4 separate regions of the Homo sapiens genome follow, and regions 1, 3 and 4 are each linked to region 2. The links are contacts of gene promoters, found by promoter capture Hi-C in blood cells and fetal thymus (Javierre and others, 2016). All regions are on one chromosome and are shown on one strand. The core of a region is centred on a gene start or on the middle of the fragment in contact, and the rest is flanking DNA. Distances in the headings are between cores, read along the strand shown. Region 1 has its middle 54 kb from the start of CARMIL1. Region 2 holds the start of SLC17A4 (solute carrier family 17 member 4). Region 3 has its middle 92 kb from the start of CARMIL1. Region 4 has its middle 39 kb from the start of CARMIL1.

What was found. Contacts are between HindIII fragments. The CHiCAGO score rates a contact against its expected background, and 5 or more counts as called.
Region 1: a fragment that was not itself captured here is called in contact with the fragment with the promoter of SLC17A4 in region 2 in 5 of 17 cell types (megakaryocytes, erythroblasts, M2 macrophages and 2 more); the score reaches 9.3 in megakaryocytes.
Region 3: a contact is called between a fragment that was not itself captured here and the fragment with the promoter of SLC17A4 in region 2, in 2 of 17 cell types (M1 macrophages and megakaryocytes). The highest score is 6.9, in M1 macrophages.
Region 4: a fragment that was not itself captured here is called in contact with the fragment with the promoter of SLC17A4 in region 2 in 5 of 17 cell types (megakaryocytes, M1 macrophages, erythroblasts and 2 more); the score reaches 9.2 in megakaryocytes.

Annotation. Positions count from the first base shown.
Region 1 is chr6:25,222,620-25,227,778 of GRCh38, reverse strand. No RefSeq gene overlaps it. Among named protein-coding and RNA genes, the nearest start is that of CARMIL1, 54 kb to the left of the region's middle. The HindIII fragment of the contact is 1,739 bases long and covers 2,576-4,314 here.
Region 2 is chr6:25,752,413-25,757,297 of GRCh38, reverse strand. It overlaps SLC17A4 (solute carrier family 17 member 4), which reads right to left and starts at 2,556. Exons shown (of 12, transcript NM_005495.3): 1 at 2,517-2,556. It also overlaps a transcript of SLC17A1 not described here. The HindIII fragment of the contact is 7,086 bases long and covers 1-4,285 here.
Region 3 is chr6:25,184,851-25,189,574 of GRCh38, reverse strand. No RefSeq gene overlaps it. Among named protein-coding and RNA genes, the nearest start is that of CARMIL1, 92 kb to the left of the region's middle. The HindIII fragment of the contact is 1,483 bases long and covers 849-2,331 here.
Region 4 is chr6:25,237,897-25,243,293 of GRCh38, reverse strand. No RefSeq gene overlaps it. Among named protein-coding and RNA genes, the nearest start is that of CARMIL1, 39 kb to the left of the region's middle. The HindIII fragment of the contact is 2,247 bases long and covers 1,625-3,871 here.

The DNA of each region.
Region 1 (5,159 bases), core at 2,196-4,695, 530 kb after region 2:
GTTCATTCCTCCATCAATGGACATTTGGGTGGTTTACACCTTTTGGCAATCGTGAATAGTGCTACTAGGAACACAGGTGTACAAATATCTCTTCACTGGCAGCTTTTGAAGATCACAGAATCATATCTCACAAAATCCATTCCACCAATGATTACTTGTGAATTGGATTTCTGCTCTGCACTCTTTGTGGTAAGAGGAATTTTCTGCAAGCTTCTGGCTCTTTGGTGGCAAAAGCCATTCCTAGATTGAAGTGCAGAAGTCATTAGAATCTTTAACACTCCACCTGACTTGCAACTGTGGTTACTCTTTAATCATTTCTTGCCCACTTCCATGAAGGCTACACTTTCCTATACAACATCATATTTAATCTTTCTTTATAACAAATCTGTGACATTGATGTTATAATTCCCATTTTATAGTCAAAGAAACTGAGTCTCAGGGAAGATAAGTGACTTACCTAGTTAATAACCCATTGGGACCTAACATATAAGGATCTAGTAAGTACAAATAAGCTAGCACTGTCCACATAGACTGTGAGTTTTGCTAAATCTATAAATCTTTCTATTTGAGCAAAATAAATGTAAGAAGTTTTCAGAATTCATAACTCTACTTACCAATTTCCAAAAGGGGCAGTTTCCAAATTATTTTATATAGAAGGAGATGCTACAGCCTTCCTTAGGCACTCAATCTAGTGACCTATGACTAACATACCTCTGGGAGGAAAAAATCATCTTAATACAGATTAGTTTAATAAGACAATAAGACAGCCTGATACAGAAATTAAAACTAGGGTATGGAGGTTAAAGTTTGGCATATTGGCTTCTGCACTGACAGACATTTTACTTTCATGCTATTCTGATGGTCCTTGCCTAATGACCACAGAGCGTGTGTGTGTGTGTGTGTGTGTGTGTGTGTGTGTGTGTGTGTATGTATGTATGTATGTGTCTGTCTGTCTATCAGTGCTATCTAACAGTTTTCTGCAATGATGGAAATACTTTTTGATTGTCCAATGAAGTAGCCACTAGTCACATGTGGCAACTGAGCACTTGAGTGGTGACTAGTATAAAAGGGAAAATCAAATTTTTAATTTTATTTAATTAATTTATATTTAAACAACCACATGTAGTTATAACAACAGAATATTGGACAACGTGGGGGCTATAGAATGGGTGTAACAATGTTGTATTTCAGTTCTTCTACCAGTTCTTCGGATTCGTTTTCTTGAACAGAGTCCAAGATGGAATATTTTACCATGAATTCTGGGTTGGAATAGGTAGGATTACAGTGAAACTCTAGCATTTAGTCACATGAATAAAAGCTGAATGAGGACAAAGCATTTCAAAGAAGGATCATATGTCTACAGAGAAAGATAATCTGGCCCAATAAACCAGGTAAATTGTGTGTTTTGGAACGCTCTAGTGTATTTTATTGCTAACGCCCATTTAGTGAATGGATTGATTTTCCTGTTAGAATGTAGTGGGAACATAATCTGAATGCCTTTGACTCTGAAGCCTACTGCAGCTAACAAGAACATCATTTGTATTTCATTGGCCCAGACAGATTATGATTAATGGTTGGATGAACACATTTTCAGTTGAATTTATGTAGCACAGTGCTTCCCATAATTTTTTTCCTGTCAAGGAACTATTTTATGTTAAATTACACAAATATAGTTTTATTTTTATAACATTACTTCCTTCTATCTCTGAACACCTGCACCTTCTCTCACAATGTTAACCTCTCTCTTTGTATTGCAATTTGGCTTCTGTATCTACTCTGTTCTTTTTTCCCACCTTCCCCCGCCCCCTGAGACAAAGTCTCACTCTGTGGCCCAGGCTGGAGTGCAGTGGTGCAATCTTGGCTCACTGCAGCCCCGACCTCCCAAGCTCAAGTGATCCTCCCACCTCAGCCTTTGGGTTGCTGGGACCACAGATGCACACCACCATGCCTAGCTAATTTCTTGTATTTTTAGTGGAGACAAGATTTCGCTATTTTGCCCAGGCTGGTCTTGAACTCCTGGGCTCAAGCAATTCTTCTGCCTCAGCTCCCTAAAGTGCTAGGATTGCTGGTGTGAGCCACCATACCCAGCTTGTTTCTTTTATTCTCAGAATATTCTTAATATTCTCAAGAACATTCTTGGCCTCCCTTCCCTGCCATTTATAATGTTTCCTCCCTTGGTTTCTTTATTTTCCTTCATTCACACTCTGATTGCACCATTCAGTTTGACTCAATTGTAGTCAAATTCAACTCACAGGCTTGTTAACCCTAGTTTGGTGAACATCATAAGTCTTTCAGATGCTGGTTGGAAATGCACCTCCTCAATCCCTAACACTGACATTTAAGCAGCAGAAAGAAGAGGAGCAGCCCATGGTGAAGGCAACTGGAAAGGTCAGAGACCCAAGGAGAGATAAGATGAAAGTTATCAGTGGTGCCTAATGAAGAAGAACTGTTCTGTGAGACAAGGACTGAGAATGTTCCTCATGAGGACATCATTGATGACCTTGGTGAGAACAGTCAGCAGAAGTTTGAGAAATTATTGGGAGGTGCTGAAGCTGCCACAAGTACAGACCAAGCTTCTGAGAGAGTTGGATGATGACAGAAGGAGAAAGTGAAAAAGGGCTCAGGGTAGAGAGGCTTTTGTTTAGGATGGGAGAAGCTAGAGCAAGCCAATGTCAGCTGGGGCCTCCCTGGCTCTGTGAGATGTTGGTCCATCTTTGTAAACCTGGTCCAAAGCCACAGTCCAAGATTCCTTTTATGATTTCCCTAAATTTCTGAGGCTTGCTCCCTCATGCTTCTCTTTGTGTCCCCTGCCACATCTGTACCTGTGGTTTCAGATCCATCTTGTGGCACCACAGTGCGAATCTCAGCCTTCTCGCCAGTTTCTACACAAACACTCATGTTAATGGTAATCTATTGAGTTAACAATTTAACAAGGAACTTTAAGGTAGTTTGGAGGTGCTCCTGGAGAGGGGTTATACGCCCAACCACACTGCCCTCTGCCATCCTGCTGGCTCCTCCTCCGTTTTTCCCAACTTCCTCCTCCTTTAGAGCAAGGAATTACTTTTCTTGTCTAGAACTGAGTGATCAACCCAGAGTCAAGGTCTCGCCTTCAACCTCAATGGGCTTATCCATGAATTTTTCTAAGAAATCTCCAAAAGGAATTTTCATGCCATTTGCTAAGAGAATTCGATTCTCCTCTAATATGTCCTCTTGTCATATTAGCATTCGGGGGTGGGGGCGGGGCAAACAGTTTATGTAGACACAGAAATTGATGCATGTGGTGAAATGCTGGGAGACACCTGGAGGGGAGAGGAGGGCAGCTGTTCTATTTCTTGTGATTGGTGGGACAGGAAGCAAGAATGAGTGAAAATGAAGATAAACCTGTATGGGGGCAGGATGTGTATGGGGGTGGGATGGAAGAGTGAAGATTTGAGGGTTTGTGGGCTCAGTAGTCTCTGTGGGGGCAAGATCACTTGCTGACAGGGGATGGACAGAACTGAAGGTATGAGATTCTCGCTATAGAGAGGAGTGAGGGAAGGAGAAGGGATGAGGGGAGAGATGCTGTTTTTAGATAAGGAGAAGTATTGACAAGATGAATGGAGTATTCTTCTGAAATCGGAAAGTATACCTTTGTGAAGATACCAGTTCCCACGGTTGTACTTCTCTCTAGAAGCCCCAAATCACTAAGATATAGAAGCAGAGAAGGGGGATTTCAGGATTAATCTGGGGTTGGAGCTTGCAGAGCAGGACAGTGTGAGTTCTAGTGCTTTATTCTGAAGTCCTGGTGAAAAAGGGAAAATTGAGTAGGAAGAAGCCTGCCCATTAGCACTGGGTTGACATTCAGCTCCACTCTGGACCATGTTACCTTGGTGATAATGAAAGTGGAAGGAGGGATGCTTTTCTGCCAATTTTATCTAAGCGTCTTGGGCAGTTTTAATTTAAACGTATGATACTACCTCCATTTTTTCCTGGTATGATTCCTTTCATTTAATTAGGCTCTATTGGTGGAAAGTAGTTGATCTTTGATGACGTTGTTATCTCCTGAACATTATTATATCTCCCGCTCTGGTTTACAGGTTTTTCCTGACTCTTCTCTTCTGCATTACAGCTCAGGACTGCCACCCAGTGGCCTGTTAGCATAGAGCTCTGGAAATGCTGATTTTTTTCTTTAATACAGCCACAGAATAAGACAATAAGAAAATATTTGCTTCCTTGTTGGGGAAAGTAAAATGCAGAACTTCCTATTTACCAGCCAAACAAAAGAAGAATGCATTCTCTCAGGACCTCAGGGACTGTCAGAAAATAAGAAAAGCTTTTTTGACCTTAGTAACCTTTGACATGGTTCTCTGAGACCAAGTGTGTTTAGCCAGGAATTTATACTAAACAGGGAATGGAATGAAAGCAGGATCAGGATTTTGAAGAAAAATACCTCTCAAATTGGGGAGAGTTAGGCAAAGAGATTCTGAATGTAAAGTCATTTGGGGAAGACATAGGCCCTTGGATAAAGCATACTTTTTTTGTTTTCCTATTTTACTTTCTTCCTCACCCTTTAACACATGGAAGATGGGTCCCTGTGTCCTCCAGGTCTGATAGGAGTTGTCAGACTGCCGTTGTTTGAGTTACTTTATTTATTTGGAATTTCTGGATGTGAGAAGCTATGGAAGCCAAGTTCAGATTCAGCCATTCTAATTCTCTTATAAGATATCCTCTGTGAAACAGTGGTGTACATTTCAGTTTTGTTTTTGTAAAAATTGAGTATCAAAATTTTAAAATCCTACATGTTTTATTATCAAAAGATCACTTACAGGCATAAACTCTAGTATAATTTTTAATTTTTTGAATTGTAGATTGTCTTTTTCTTTTTTATCATAGACACTCTGAAAGCTAATTGGGATGACAGAGAAGAAAAAGAGAAAAGAAAGAATCTCGAATAAGAGGCCCAGTGGCCTCACTAGAAGGATGAGAAGATAAGACTTGCTCTAGAGGAGGAAAAATGGCAGCTTCCTTGCCCACTAAGGGGAGACACAGAGACCCTTGAATGCAATGTAGAGTGTCCTTCCTTAGCCCTTATAGCGGTTCTTCAAAGTTGCAACTGTTCCTACAAATGTTATTTACAGCCTGGGACTTCATTAAGCCAGAATATTTCCCTGAACACTACT
Region 2 (4,885 bases), core at 1,307-3,806:
GTGAAGGACTATTCTTATTAATATAAAAGAAAATAGACCTGATCCTTTGGTGCTATTGTGTTTAAAGATAAGTGGAAATGTTATGTAACGTACCACTAAAGCTGGTAAGTAAGCAACTGACAGAGAAGTTGCCTCAATGATGTCATTCAAAACCACAGATGTTAGACCATGGAACCCTCTAGTCTGCACTGGAATTCGAAAACACACTCAAAATTGAATTGAAATCCAAACAAATACTCATTGGCAAATGGAATGGTTCTGGTAATTCTGAAAAGAAACTTGGTAAAATGAGGGGACTGAATAGTCTGCTGGAAAAATAATTTGCTTATCATTTATTTTCACACCTCAGGGCAATTAGTTGAATTGAAAAAATCATATCAGTCACAAGAACTAAAGACATAGCTTTCAGGGCAACATTTTTTTCCACAAGCTATACCCACACAGACTCTTCGAGTGTTCCAATGTCTAAGAGTTCACTGGCCGCAAGTTCATTCATTGATTCAGTAAATATTTATTGAATCAATGAATGCAATGTTGTGCTTTCATAGCTCCATCTCCTGCATGACTGAAGAACTTAGTTCTCATTAAATTGCCCTCTCCTTTTACTTATTATAACCAGAAATCAATTGCCAGTTTTTTCAGTAACAGGCGATAATGGTTTTGCTGGCGTTAATGAGAGCAGTGGGAACAGACAGCCGAGGGTGAAGGGAGGACAGTGCTGTTGTGGGGACAGCGTGATGCAGGCACAGACAGTACACCTGCGAGAAAGTTACATCCCAGGAGGGGCACATATGAAAAGAAAGAAGTAAGAATGCCACATGGTATGAAAAAAACAAGAGTAGCATTGACAGCAACTAGGTCATTAGCATCAGGAGAGGAGGGCAAGCACTCTGCCTAGTCTAACCACTTACCTAGTGTGGTTGTGTGAAATGGTTATATTTGAGCTGAAACGGGAACACTGAGAAGGAGACAGCGCTGAGCAAGAACAATTCCAGGCAGAGGAACCAGCAAGTTTGTCACGTTTTTCTAGGCAGAAGGTAGTCCAACATGGCGATGCAGAGTGAATGAGGAGGTTAATGGTAGGAGATGAGATCAAAGGGGTGGGCAGGATGGTCTCGATCTCCCAAAATGGCCAGACCATTTTGGGTCCTATAGGCCTGGTAAGGGGACTGGATCTACTATGGCCACTGTGTGGCACATGGGCTGTAAAGGACAAGATTGAGAACCAAGAGACTGAACAAGAAGTTGTTTCTTCACCTGTACAAGTGTTGATGGTGGATGGGCTAGGCTAGTTGTGGTGAAAAAGACCACATTCAGGACCTGTTTTGGAGATATGCCACTAAGACTTGCTAATGAGGTGTATATGGGAATGAGAGAAAGGGAAGAATCATCAGAGACTTCTAGACTTACGGCTTGAGCAAATGAGTGAATAGTGTTGCACTCAAAGAAGTTGGCGAAATGAGCAGGGAGGGCAACAGGTTCCAGAGGAAAAGCAAGAACTTTATTTTGGACACTTGGGGTTGAGACTCCTGTTAGACCCAGAAGGGAAGATTGACAGGTAAGTTTTGTGTCTGTGAGTCCATAGCTAAGAACAGAAGGGCCTTTGTAGAAATATAAATGTGTGAGTCATCAGCCTTATCTATTTATTTTGAAACCAGGTAAATGAGGAAAAAACAGCAAAGAAATGGAGCCAGCCATTCTTATATCAATTTCTCATCAGTTTTTCTTGCCAAGACTGCTTGTGTCTGTTCTTTTTGGATTCATATGCACCCTGTTCCTCTGCTAGTTATCAGTCCACTGTAGAATGAGACTTTTCCTTAAGGTGCTGGGCAGAGCTATTAACAGCTCAAATGTCATCTTAGGTGGTCTCAGCACTGAACATTTTTCCTCCTTATGAGAAACAGCCCATGGCTCTTATTCACAGTTTGCAAATAAAGTCCTCTGCCCTAAACTCTTCATCATTAACTACTTCCCAAAGCCATATTAGATTTCATTTATTTTGCTTTCCCATAAATTCGCTGGAACCAAACCAGAACCGTTTGGTTTTCATTAATTTTTTAGGCATGATGAAAATCTTCCTCTCTGAGAATTCAGTATTGGCATTTATTGTCTCACTGTGGATTTGATCAATGCTTAAAAAAATTAATGTACTTCACAAAAACAATCCAAATATATCATTTAGTTTCTGTCTCTTCCTCTCTCTCTTTCTTCCTCTGTGTGTGTGTGTGTGTGTGTGTGTGTGTGTGTGTATGTGTGTGTGTCTGTCTGTCTGTCTCTGTTCAGCTATACTTTTAGAAAATTTCATTCTCTTGAATTAATTCCCTGTAGTTCCAGGGCTCTTAATGCAACATCCCTTCTCACTTACCAGAATTATCTCAGGACACAGGCATTCTCTTCTCCACTCCCACAATCTCTGCCCCTAAACAGCAAATTAAGCTGCTCTCTAACAGAAACAGACCCATTCCCATCATCTCAAAAGCAGAATATTAAGGGTAAAAGTTTGAAAGCTAACTAACCTGAGGGAGGAAGAGTGCAGGATCCTCATTCCTTTCAAATAAATATTCTAAGCTCTTTGCAATTGTCTAATTCTGGGAGGTAAATAATTACCCAAAACCTTTAGCCCTTATGTTACCAGCTTGGAGAATTTTATTGGCCCAGTGGTTTAATTTTTAACTTTACATTTTATTGTTTGATTGATAATCAAATCAAGCTCATTAAATCTTCCTCATGCTTCAAGCCCAGCTGAGGTCACCTATGTCTTCCCTCATCCTTAATCAGAATCAATGTCCCTTCTTATAAGGATCCTGACACCCCACATGTTTCACTGACAGCACTATCCCCTTCTGGGGTCTCTCAGAGTTATTATAATCTTCATGGAGATGGGGTATATTTTGCCCCTTTTGAGTCCCTTTTCCACCATCCTGCTGTTTAATAGAACTGAGCTTTCCAAAGAGGAGAGACTTAATACATTTTGGTCGACTTGAGTGATTTTTATGGTTTTCTGATTGTAATTTTTTGCACAAAGGCCATTGAGTTTTCCATGAAAATTAACTCTGTGATTCTCCTCCCTTTTATGGCAAAACATTTCAGAAGACTCATACATATTTGCATTCTGGTTCCCCACCTCTAGTTTTCTCATGAATCCATCAGCAACAAGACAGCCCTTAGCAAAGCCATCACCAGCCTCTCTGCCAGCAAATCCAGTGGTCACATCCCAGGCCCCATCTGTCAGTGCTTGACAGATTCCACCACTCGTTCCTTCTTGATGCCTTGTTTCATTTAATTCATTCAGATCTGATTTTCCTCGTGTCTCATTGGTTGTTCCTTGTCAATACGTTTTGCTGAATCCTTATCTTTTCTCTGGTTTCTAATGTTGATATGCCTAAGACTCTGTCCTTGAACTTCCTCCCTATCTAAACTCACTCCCAAGGAGATCTCAGCCAGTCCCCTTTCCTTTCACACCCAATTCTGACCTCTTCTCTGAGCTTCGACTTCAACTTCATCCATCTCTCCTTGAGTACCCATTAGGTATCTCAGTCTTATGACTGCAAGCAGAACTGAATCTCCCTCCAACCCTACTCCTGGCCCAGGATCCCCCATCTTGGTTAATGGCATTACCATTTCCCTGTTAATCTTGCCAAAAAAAAGTCAGCCTTCATTCTATACTTTCCATCAACATTAATTCCAACAGTATGTTCTATCAGTTCCACCTTCATCTCTTTCCATTATTTTTTATTTTCTCCATTCCTATCACAATCATCTATCACCAGGGTAAATAAAATGATTATTTACCGGGCCCCACTGTTTCCATTCTCTCTCTTTTAATCCACCCCACATAGCAGGCAGAATGTTGGAAATGTACATATGATCATGTTACTTACTGGTGTAAAAGTCTTCCAAAGCCTTCCCAGAGAACCTAGGAGAAAAGAGAGCAAATTCACCTTCCTGAAGGTGCTCCAACACCTTACATCACCTTGGACACACCAACCTTACTGACCTCTGCCCTGCTGTCCTTCCCTCACTAAATTCCAACTAGTTCTGCCTTGTCCATGAAGTTCAAGGCCTTTACACTTGCAGTTCCTCCTGTCAGTGATGCCCAATTCCCCAAGATGATTGCCAAGTGTTTTACCAATGTTGTTAGAAAAGTAAAACACTTGAAAATAGATTTTCCAAGAAGCCTCTAATATGGTCTTGATTTTGTGTCAGCCTAGGCTAACTTGCATATTTGTGTCTTAGTTTTAATAAATCTTTTTTAATTTTTAAAAATTAAAAATAGATCAAAGCTTATAGAATAAGGGTATAAAGAAAATGTTTGGTGTTTTTTTTTTGTTTTTTTTTGTTTTTTTGAGACGGAGTCTCAGACTGTTGCCCAGGCTGGACTGCAGTGGCGTGATCTCGGCTCACTGCAAGCTCTGTCTCCCGGGTTCACGCCATTCTCCTGCCTCAGCCTCCCGAGTAGCTGGGACTACAGGCGCCTGCCACCACGCCCAGCTAATTTTTTGTATTTTTAGTAGAGACGGGGTTTCACTGTGTTAGCCAGGATGGTCTCGATCTCCTGACCTTGTGATCCGCCCACCTCAGCCTCGCAAAGTGCTGGGATTACAGGCGTGAGCCACCGCACCCGGCCTAAAGAAAATATTTTTGTACAGCAGTACAATATGTTTGTGTTTTAAGCTGTGATTACCAGAGTCAAAAAGTTTAAAAACATTTAAAAGTTTATAAAGTCAAAATGAAATAGTAAGCTAGAATTTATTATTGAAGAAATAAAATTTTTTTATAAACTTAGTGTAGCTTAAGTGCACAGTGTTTACAAAGTCTACAGCAGTGTACAGGCATGTCCTGGGCCTTCACATTCACTCACTGCCTCACCCAGAGTAACTTCCAG
Region 3 (4,724 bases), core at 341-2,840, 570 kb after region 2:
GAGGCCAGGGTAGAAAGCAGGCAATGTAATGAATAATCAATATTTATTAAATGCCCTCTTTGTTTTTGTGACCTCTATCTTCAAATAGGTTACCCCAGCCAGAAGGTTATTTATTCATTCAGTTTAGCTGAGATGGGTGGCAATATAGTATGATAATAAGGGTTTTGCATTCTATTTACTGCAAACCACATAGAAAGCATTCGTAGGGCAACTACTATGTTTGTAGTAAGGTGCTGTAGGGAAGATTATGGTCATAACAACCATTCCTTCAACAAATACTTAAAGTGTGCCTACTAGAAGCCAGCCATCATTGTAAGCACTGTGGATACAGAGGTAAATGTGGCAAAATTCCTTCTCATGTGGAGCTTATGATATACAATGGGACAGCACGGTGCAGTGGCTCATGCCTGTAATCCCAGTACTTTGGGAGGCTGAGGCGGGTGGATCACCTGAGGTTGGGAGTTCAAGATCAGCCTGGGCCAACATAGTGAAACCCCGTCTCTATTAAAAATGCAAAAATTAGCTGGGTGTGTTGGCGTACGTCTGTAATCCTGGTTACTTGGGAGACTGAGGCAAGAGAATCACTTGAACCTGGGAGGCAGAGGCTGCGTTGAGTCGAAGTCATGCCATTGCACTCCAGCCTGGGCAACAAGAGTGAGACTTTGTCTCAAAAAAAAAAAAAATACAGTGGGACAGAGAGATAATACACCCACCTACCACGCACACAATATAATGTCAGATACTGGTTTAAAAAAAAAAAACTGAAGAAAAAACAGAGTATATGGATATAGGGCTGTTATTATCACATACTTAAGCTTATCATGTAGCAAGTGCAGTACTTAGAAGCTTTATATCCATAACCTCATTTAAACCCCACAACCTACATAGAGTAGGAGTCATTATTTCTCTGTTGCAGATGTGGAAAAGAGGCTTTAAGAGGTGAAGTTCATATATCAAGTAAATGGAAGAGGTGTTGTATTTAAGAGCCTCTCCCCCTCTCTTCCCCCAATTCCCTCTAGGTCTCTCTCCTTTTCTCTCTCTCTCCCTCTTCTCCCTCTCAATTTCAAAACTTAAGGTATTATTCAGTATGATGGAGGCACAGTAGAAAGATGGAAGGTCATGTTAATACATAAAGAATGACCTCATTCTCAGTAACAATGGTCTTGTTATATAATCTGTCTGTCTCACTTTCCTCTTCTGCAGGATAATACCCACTACATAAAGTTTTAGGATGACATGAGAAAATATGTATAAATCAGAAGGAACATACCTCTTATCAAAAGTCCTCAGTACGTATTATATTGCTAAATATAATTGATGGGCATGTGGTGAAGAGACTGATAAATAATTGGGAGTTGGGGTACTTTCTAAGAGGTGCAGGTGGGACCTGATACACAAAGCATAAGTATATGGAGTAGATTGGGAGGGGCCTCAGTGTTTGGAGAAGGATTAGGAGGACATCAAAGCAAACCTTTGGTAGACTGTGTGAAGAAAGATAGCACCTTGATATTCAATAAAACTGTTTTCCAAAGTCAACAGCCATGAGTATTGTAGGTTGCTTTTTGGATCAATGAGAAGAATCTCAACTGTTGCTTCAATAGTGGTTCCTCAAATTGCCTGACAATCAAACTTATCTGGGAAACTTCTTACAAAGACACATTCAAAGTTCTGTGTCCTCCAAGGTGGAAATTTCCATGGTAGTATAAAAGGAACAAAACCATTTGTTCACTGCTATAACCCCAAAACCTAGAGCAGTACCTGGCATGTGTAGGATATTCAACTAGTGCTTGTTGACTGAATCTCCTTTATTTTTTCCTCCTTCCTATCTTCCTTTTGTTTTCCCCAAACACATAGGACATTCCCCTAACACATGTGAAATGCTCTGTGACTCTGTCCTGCATCTTCCCAGGGGTGGATTATGTGTGGAGAAAAATGTCACTTTGTCTTTGATGGGATTTAAGGGGGCATGGTCATGCCTGCTTGCTCCAAACTCTTCCTCACTCTGTTTGCTAGCATACCAGCAATGTCCACACGGCAGCTATTCCGTGTTGAGATCATGCATTTCCTGAAAACCCCTACTGCTACTACATAACGCATTGCACTGAGAAGGAGAGTGACTGGGTGAAATCACTTTAACTCTCAGCTTCTCACTCATTTGCGCTGGTTAGGCTATGAGAAGGCTTGCTGCCACTTTGAGTAGCAGAGGGGCCAGGTCCTGAAGGAATGAGACAGGGCAGTATTGATGGGAAAGAGCAGGAAGGAAAAGTCCCAGGGCTTAGGGGTGGCAAGCTAGGAGGAGTACCCAGAAAGATGGCTGGTGTGGAGGAAGCTTTTGGGGGATGGTGGCATTTGATGAGCATGGGAGGTGTTCCCACTTAAGAGAGACTTTTCCTGAGCAACACTTTGAGTCAGGTTGGTAGGGTGTTATTAATGGCTCCAAGTGCTTGGTACATAGTTGACTCACCTGCTGAAACACTTGCTGAGTTAGCGGTTCAATTTCACAGATGTTTTTAAGTCTTGGGTATGCAGAGACTGACCTCTGTGTGACTGTCACAGAGCCTGACATTCCCAGAAGACAGATTCACAAGTTTTCACCCTTTCTAGCACTATGTGAGCTCTGATGATTGTTTCCTCACGTTAATTTAGTGGTTCTTCCCCTGACCTTGGGCATTCTCCCACACACATGCACTGATCAGCACTTAGCTGAATGTTTGAGGGGGACCTTCTGTAGGTCTTCAAGTTTTCCCAGGGCAGCTCTCATGTCTTTGGTGCTCTGCCCTAGGCACTCTAGCCACCTTACTCTCCAGACTCTCAGCTGTCTCCTCAGTTCCAGGATACCTCCACAAAGGTGCCTCTTCCCTGCCCTGTGACCTGAAAAAACTTCCTCCAAATAGTATACTGGGGCAATCATTGGCTCACATCATTTATTTCCTGTTTCTTGGAGATCACCATTCTTCATTGTCTAATTTGTTCTAAGACTCGCTGTTTCACGTATTTGTCTTTTTGTTGTTGTTTCAGAGAGGAGGATAAATCTGGTCTTTCTTACTGCATTTTGGCCAGAAATGGAAATACATGAGTTATTCTTAATGCTTTTGTTTCCTACTCACTTTTGGTTTTAATTTACATTTCTCCAATGACTAATGATGTTGGATACTTTTTTATATGTGCCCACTGGCCATATGTATATCTTTTATGATGAAATGTCTATTCAAATCTTTGGCCTGTTTTTTAAAAACTTGTGTTGCTTATATTTTTATTCTTGAGTTGTAGGAATTCTTTGTATATCTCCCGCCTTTTAAAATATGTAATCAGTTTAGTAATCAATTTATTATACAGATTAGCTCCAGGGAGCAATTAGATTTTTAAATCTATACAAGTATTTCTTTAAATGGATTTTCACCCTTATGTACACTTAGACCTAAGCGATTAAGAGCATAAGAAAAATAAGAGCTAGTTTGGGCAGACACGGAGCTAGCTGCAAGAATGTTTTTTTCATACCCCAGTGGCACTGGAACCACAGCAAGACAGAACTGTTTACTCCCCTGGAAAGGGGGCTGAAGCCAGGGAGCCAAGTGGTCTCACTCAGTGGGTCCCATTCCCATGGAGCCCAGCAAGCTAAGAACCATTGGCTTGAAATTCTCACTGCCAGCACAGCAGTCTGAAGTTGACCTGGGAAGATCGAGCTTGTTGGGAGGAGGGGCATCAGCCATTACTGAGGCTTAAGTAGGCAGTTTTCCCCTGACAGTGCTAAGGAGACCTGGAAGTTCGGACTGCACAGAAATCAACACAGCACAGCAAAGCGGCTGTGGCCACACTGCTTCTCTAGATTCCTCTTCACTGGGCAGGGCATCTCTAAAAGGCAGAAGCCCCAGTCAGGGACTTATAGATAAAGCTCCCATCTTCCCTGCGACAGAGCACCTGGGAGAAGGGGTGGCTGTGGGCACAGCTTCAGCAGACTTAATTCCTACCTGCCGGCTCTGAACAGAGCAGCGAATCTCCCAGCACAGCTCTTGAGCTCTGCTAAGAGACAGACTGCCTCCTCAAGTGGGTCCTGACCCCCATGCCTCCTGACTGGGAGAGACCTCCCAACAGGGGTCAACAGGCATCTCTGCCTATTGCAGGAGAGCTCTGGCTGGCATCAGGATGGGGCACCTCTGGGACGAAGCTTCCAGAGGAAGGAGCAGGCAGCAACCTTTGCTGTTCTGCGGCCTCCACTAGTGATACCCAGGCAAATATAGGGTCTGGAGTGGACCTCCAGCAAATGGCAGCAGATCTGCAGCAGAGGGGACTGACTGTTAGAAGGAAAACTAACAAACAGAAAGCAACAACATCAAGATCAACAAAAAGGACCCCCACACAGAAACCCAATCCAAAGGTCATCAGCCTCAAAGATCAAAGGTAGATAAATCCACGAAGATGAGGAAAAACCAGCACAAAAACAATGAAAATTCCCAAAACCAGAATGCCTCGTCTCCTCCAAATGATCGCAACTCCTCCAGAAAGGGCACAAAGCTGGATAGAGAATGAGTTTGATGAACTGACAGAAGTAGGCTTCAGAAGGTGGGTAATAACAAATGCCTCTGAGCTAAAGAAGCGTGTTCTAATCCAATGCAAGGAAGCTAAGAACCTTGACAAAAGGTTACAGGAACTGCTAACTAGAATAATCAGTTTAGAGAGGAACATAAATGACCTGATGGAGCTGAAAAGCACAGCATGAGAACTTC
Region 4 (5,397 bases), core at 1,499-3,998, 510 kb after region 2:
AGAGTCTGTCTCAAAGATAAAAGTAAAGATAAAAAAATAAATAAATACCACCATCTCAATAATTATATCTGTCTCAGGGGTCCCATAATCACCCACTAGTTGGGTGATTCACTGGAGGACTCACCACAACTTAGCATGAAGTTAAACCGGATAGCTGAAGTTTATCATAGCACAAGATAACAGAGCAGGAACAGCAGGAAAAATATATACCTAGGCAAAGGCTAGAGAGATCATGTGCAGGTTCCTGAGTCCTCCCTTTCTAAGATTATCACACTGGTGTAATCCTCTCTCCAGCTTCAAATTGTAAAGACATATACAAGATTTCCATATTCAGGAAAGCCCATTTGGGGCTTGGAGTCCAAGATTCTTGAAGAGAGCGTGTCACATTAATACATAACTGCCACATCAGTAGCCATTGTGCATACCCCAAAGCAGGTACCAGGTGCACATCATGAATCTTCATGTTTACTTTAAATCTGCTGACCACCTGGTTCATATTGACCTACTGGATTGGGTGTATAGAATGACATCATTACCTAGTACGAGGTAAACATTACAGTACTTTAGTTCTTAGCATTAGACCAAGAGTCACTGTTATAGCTACAGAAATAAGCAAGAAGTAAATAAAAATAATCTGCTGTGTTAACTTTCTTTGTAGCATTAAATATTGTTTGTTTTTGTTTGTTTGTTTGTTTGTGAGACAGGGTCTCACTCTGTGGCCCAGGCTGGAGTGCAGTGACATGATCTTGGCTCACCGCAACCTCTGCTGCCCAGGCTCAGGTGATTCTCCCATCTCAGCCTTCTGGGTAGCTAGGACTACAGGTGCATCCTACCATGCCCAGCTAATTTTTGTATTTGTAGTAGAGATGGGGTTTCACCATGTTGCCCATGCTGGTCTAAAATTCCTGGGCTCAAGCGATCTGCCTGCCTCAGCCTCCCAAAGTGTTGGGTTTGCAGGTGTGAGCCACCATGCCTGGCCTTTGCTGCATTACATGTAAATGAACTAAACAACCAAAAGGCAGAGATTATTGTAAGACTGAATTAAAAAAAAATCAAGAACCAATTATAAGGTGTCTACAAGAGATGCATTTTAAATGCAAAGACACAAATAGATTAAAAGTAAAAGGATAGAAAAATATGTAGCATGGAAAACTGGAGAAAACTGGAGTGATTTTATTAAGATTAAACAAAATAGACTTCAATAAAGAAGTATTACTAGAGACAAAGACAAATACTTCATACTAATAAAAAAGTCAAATACATCAGTAAAATGGAGCAATTATAAACGTATATGTGCCTAATTAACAGAGCTTCAAAATGTGTGAAGCAAACATCTGACAGAACTAAAGACAGAAATAGACAAATCCACAATCATTGTTGGAAACTTAAACATACTTCTCAATAATGAACAGAACAACTAAGCAAAAAGTCAGTAACAATGAATGAAAGTAAAAGATCTCCTCTTCTTATACTTTCCTTAGTCTCTTCCTAAACCAAGAAGTTCTTACAAGGTATTGTTTCTGGAGAAGGCCAGAACCATTTGTCTTCTTCTGTGCTTCCAAGGCCATATCCACGTCTGAGATCCTGCAGTAGTTTTATTTTCAGTTGCAAGTAACCAAAAGCTTAATTCAAACTTCCTTATACAATAGAGGGAAATTATTCTTTTAGGTACAGATCAATCAGGGTTAAATTTCTCTTTAATTTTGCCTCTTGTGTGTTGGATTTATTTATTTATTTATTTTTTTAGACAAGTCTTGCTTTGTCACCCAGGCTAGTGTGCAGTGGTGCAGTCGCAGCTCACTGTAACCTCTGCCTCCGGGGATCAAGTGATTCTCCTGCCTCAGCCTCCCAAGTAGCTGAGATTACAGGTGTGCACCACCACGCCCGACTAATTTTTGTATTTTTAGTAGATACAGGGTTTTACCATGTTGACTAGGCTTGTCTCAAACTTCTGACCTCAGGTGATTTGCCTGCCTCAGCCTCCCAAAGTGCTGGGATTACAGGTGTGAGCCACTGGGCCTGCCCAATTTCTTCTTTTTTGTTTGCTTTTTCTTTTTTCTTTTGAGACAAGGTCTTGCTCTGTCACCCAGGCTGGAGTGCAGTGGCATGATCTTGGCTCACTACAACCTCCATCTCCCAGGTTCAGGCAATTCTCATGCCTCAGCCTCCTAAGTAACTGGCACTGCAGGCATACACCAACACGCCTGGCTAATTTTTTTGTATTTTTAGTAGAGATGGGATTTTGCCATGTTGGCCAGTCTGGTCTTGAACTCCTGGCCTTTAGTAATCTCCCTGCCTTGGTCTCCCAAAGTGTTGAGATTAGAGGCATGAGCCACAGTGCCTGGCAATTCTTCAAAAACATTTTTTTGTATTGTAAAGTCAGAGAAAATGTGTTCGATTCATTCTGAGGTGAACATACTATATGGTGGCAAAGTGAGGATAGCAGTTCTCCCTTCACATCCACATCCCACACTACACAGAAAGAAAGAAACATGTGTTCCAGAATTGTCAGCAAAAATCCTGAAATTCGCACTTGACTTAGACCACAGACCCATGACTGATCTAATCACTGCAATGAGGGCAATAAGACTTTCTTGGGCGCAGTACATGTCATTCATTTTATCCCTGAAATAATGGGATAGTTGGGGGTAGAGTAACAATAAATTTCCAATAGAAGTGTAGACTGTTGGGAAAGGTTAAGTGGGACATGGATACCAGAGCGTTAACCAACAGGCGAACAACAGGTGAATAATACTGTGTTTAACATGGTCTCTCTCTGTCTCGCACACACACACACACACACACACACAGAGCAATGAGCAGTAACTAGCCAAACAAATGAAACATTAATCATATACAGCATATGTTAGAGCAATATACTCATATAGAAAACAGGAATTTCATTAAATTACAAAACTGTTGTTTGATAAACTAGCGAGGATAAATAATACATAATATTGTGATAGTTTTTCTTTTATCTTTCCTGTAGAAAGTTATGTATGAAAAAAGAACACTGACTTTCTCTTGTACTTTAAGTCTTTAGCATTTGGGAAATTTCCTATTATTCTCAAGTATAGTCACACTACATCAGATTTCAAGCCAAGACTTAATTTTTTAAAATGTTCTAAGAGGCATGGTGGCTTATGCCTATAATCCTAGCACTTTGGGAGTCCGAGATGGATGGATCACTTGAGGTCAGGAGTTTGAGACCAGCCTGGCCAATATGATGAAACCCCAGCTCTACTAAAAATACAAAAATTAGCCAGGTGTGGTAACACATGCTAATCCCAGCTCCTCAGGAAGCTGACTTGGGAGGATCCCTTGAGCCGGGGAGGGGGTTTTGCAGTGAGCCGAGATTGCGCTACTACACTCCAGCTTGGGCAAAAGAGTAAGACCCTGTCTTAAAAAAGTAAATAAATAAAATAAAATGTTCTAAGAGTGTTTCATGCTCATGACTGCATAAGCATTACTGAACCTGGCATTCTGCTCTTGTCTCCTTCATTGTTAGATTAATGTTCACATAAAAACATTTCCATAATTATACCAATAAAGGGTTAGACACCCTCTGTGAGTATAAAAGGAAAATTAAGACATAAAGAAAATATGTGGTAAAGAGGAAAGGGCCAGGTTGAGCAATGGGTGATAAGTGCAAGATAAAACTCATTGAATATAAAAGTTAGAATTACTGAGCTCGAAAGGATCCCAAGAGGTCATCTGATCCAGTCTGCCTTCTAAGCAACAGCACACTTTAAAATTACTGAAAACTAACAGTTAATTGTATTCTGTGTAGCACTTTTTTTTTTTTGGCTTTTGAAAAATTGATCAAACAGTAGGGATAAAGAAAACCCTAATTAATTCTTAATTCAAAGCTTACTGTATTTTGTGGTTCTAAAATATTTTGAAAAGGTTTTAAAATGTCAAATCCCTGCCAGATAGAAAGCAGATATTCCAAAATAAATATTTTACTGTTTTCTCTGCCAGTGTGATATGAGACAATAATTTATTACCAGGAAAGCTAAGGGAGGCCCTTGGAACCAGCATCAAAGTAATAATCCTGTTTCTCTGAGACTTTTGGCAGACAGTTTGTTCTTTAGTTTTCCTAGAGATTGTTAAGCACACAATTCAACCAAAACACTGACAATTCAAATTAATTATATTTATCAACAACTGTCACATACTTTAGGAAAGTATATTACTCTTCTGCATATCCTATTGATCTGTTAACATAATTTTGCACAACACTATTTGCTCTAGCAACTCAATTTCTGCTACTAAACGTTTATTCTGAAGAAATAATCATAGATGCAAGCAAAGATTTATATACAGTTGTTTATTAAAACATTTTTGACCAAGCGTGGTGACCCATGCCTGTAATCCCAGCACTTTGGGAGGCTGAGGCAGGTGGATTGCTTGAGCCCAGGAGTTTGAGACCAGCCTAGGCACGTGGTGAAATCCTATCTCTACTAAAAATATTTTGAAAAATGTATCTGGGAATGGTGGCATGTGCCTGTAGTCCCAGCTACTTGGAGATTGCTTGAGCCTGGGAGGTGGAGGTTGCAGTGAGCCTAGATCACACCACTGCACTCAGGCCTGAGTGATGGAGCAAGACCCTGTCTCAGAAAAAAATAAAATAAAATAACCCAACCCCCCCCCCACATCATTTGTAATGTCCAAAATTAGAAACCACTTAAATACCCGACAATAGAAAATTGGTTAAATAAATTATGGTGTGTCTATACAACAAAATACTACATAGCCATTAAAATTATGTTATCAAATATCCAAGGTGATGGGAAAATGTTTATGATGTGTCATTGGGAAAAAATTCAAAACATAAGCAGTATGTATAGCATGATCCCATTTCTGAAAACAGACAATATGATTGAAAGGAAATATACCAAAATATTAGATAGAGTTAAACCTGGGTGGCAGAAGTTTAATTTAATTAAAAAATGCAATACATGATTGCATTTTTCTCTTTCTCCTGTATCATATTTATTATAGTGATTATATGTCACTTTGATAGAAAAAAATTCTATATTTTTAATGCTGTACCTTTTAGTTTTAGGACACAAATAGTTAAAATAGTCACAGTTTCTATATATTTTGAAGGATGTACATAGATACATATATTTATATTTCTTTCTCAGTCTACACATAAGTAGACTGGCCACCATTACCAAAAATTGTTATATACATTATTTAGAAGTAGTTATATGTGCTGGTGCTTGTATTTCTAATTATTCTTTCAATATTTTTTCACTATAGTAATGTTTTTCATTTTTCAGTAGTGCTTTGAGATGCTTTAACATTGTTTTTCTATTAGATGTGGTGTTGCTACAGGTATCAATTCATTCTGAGAGAGAAATACTTTCTACCCAGCTTGTCTTCTATAAC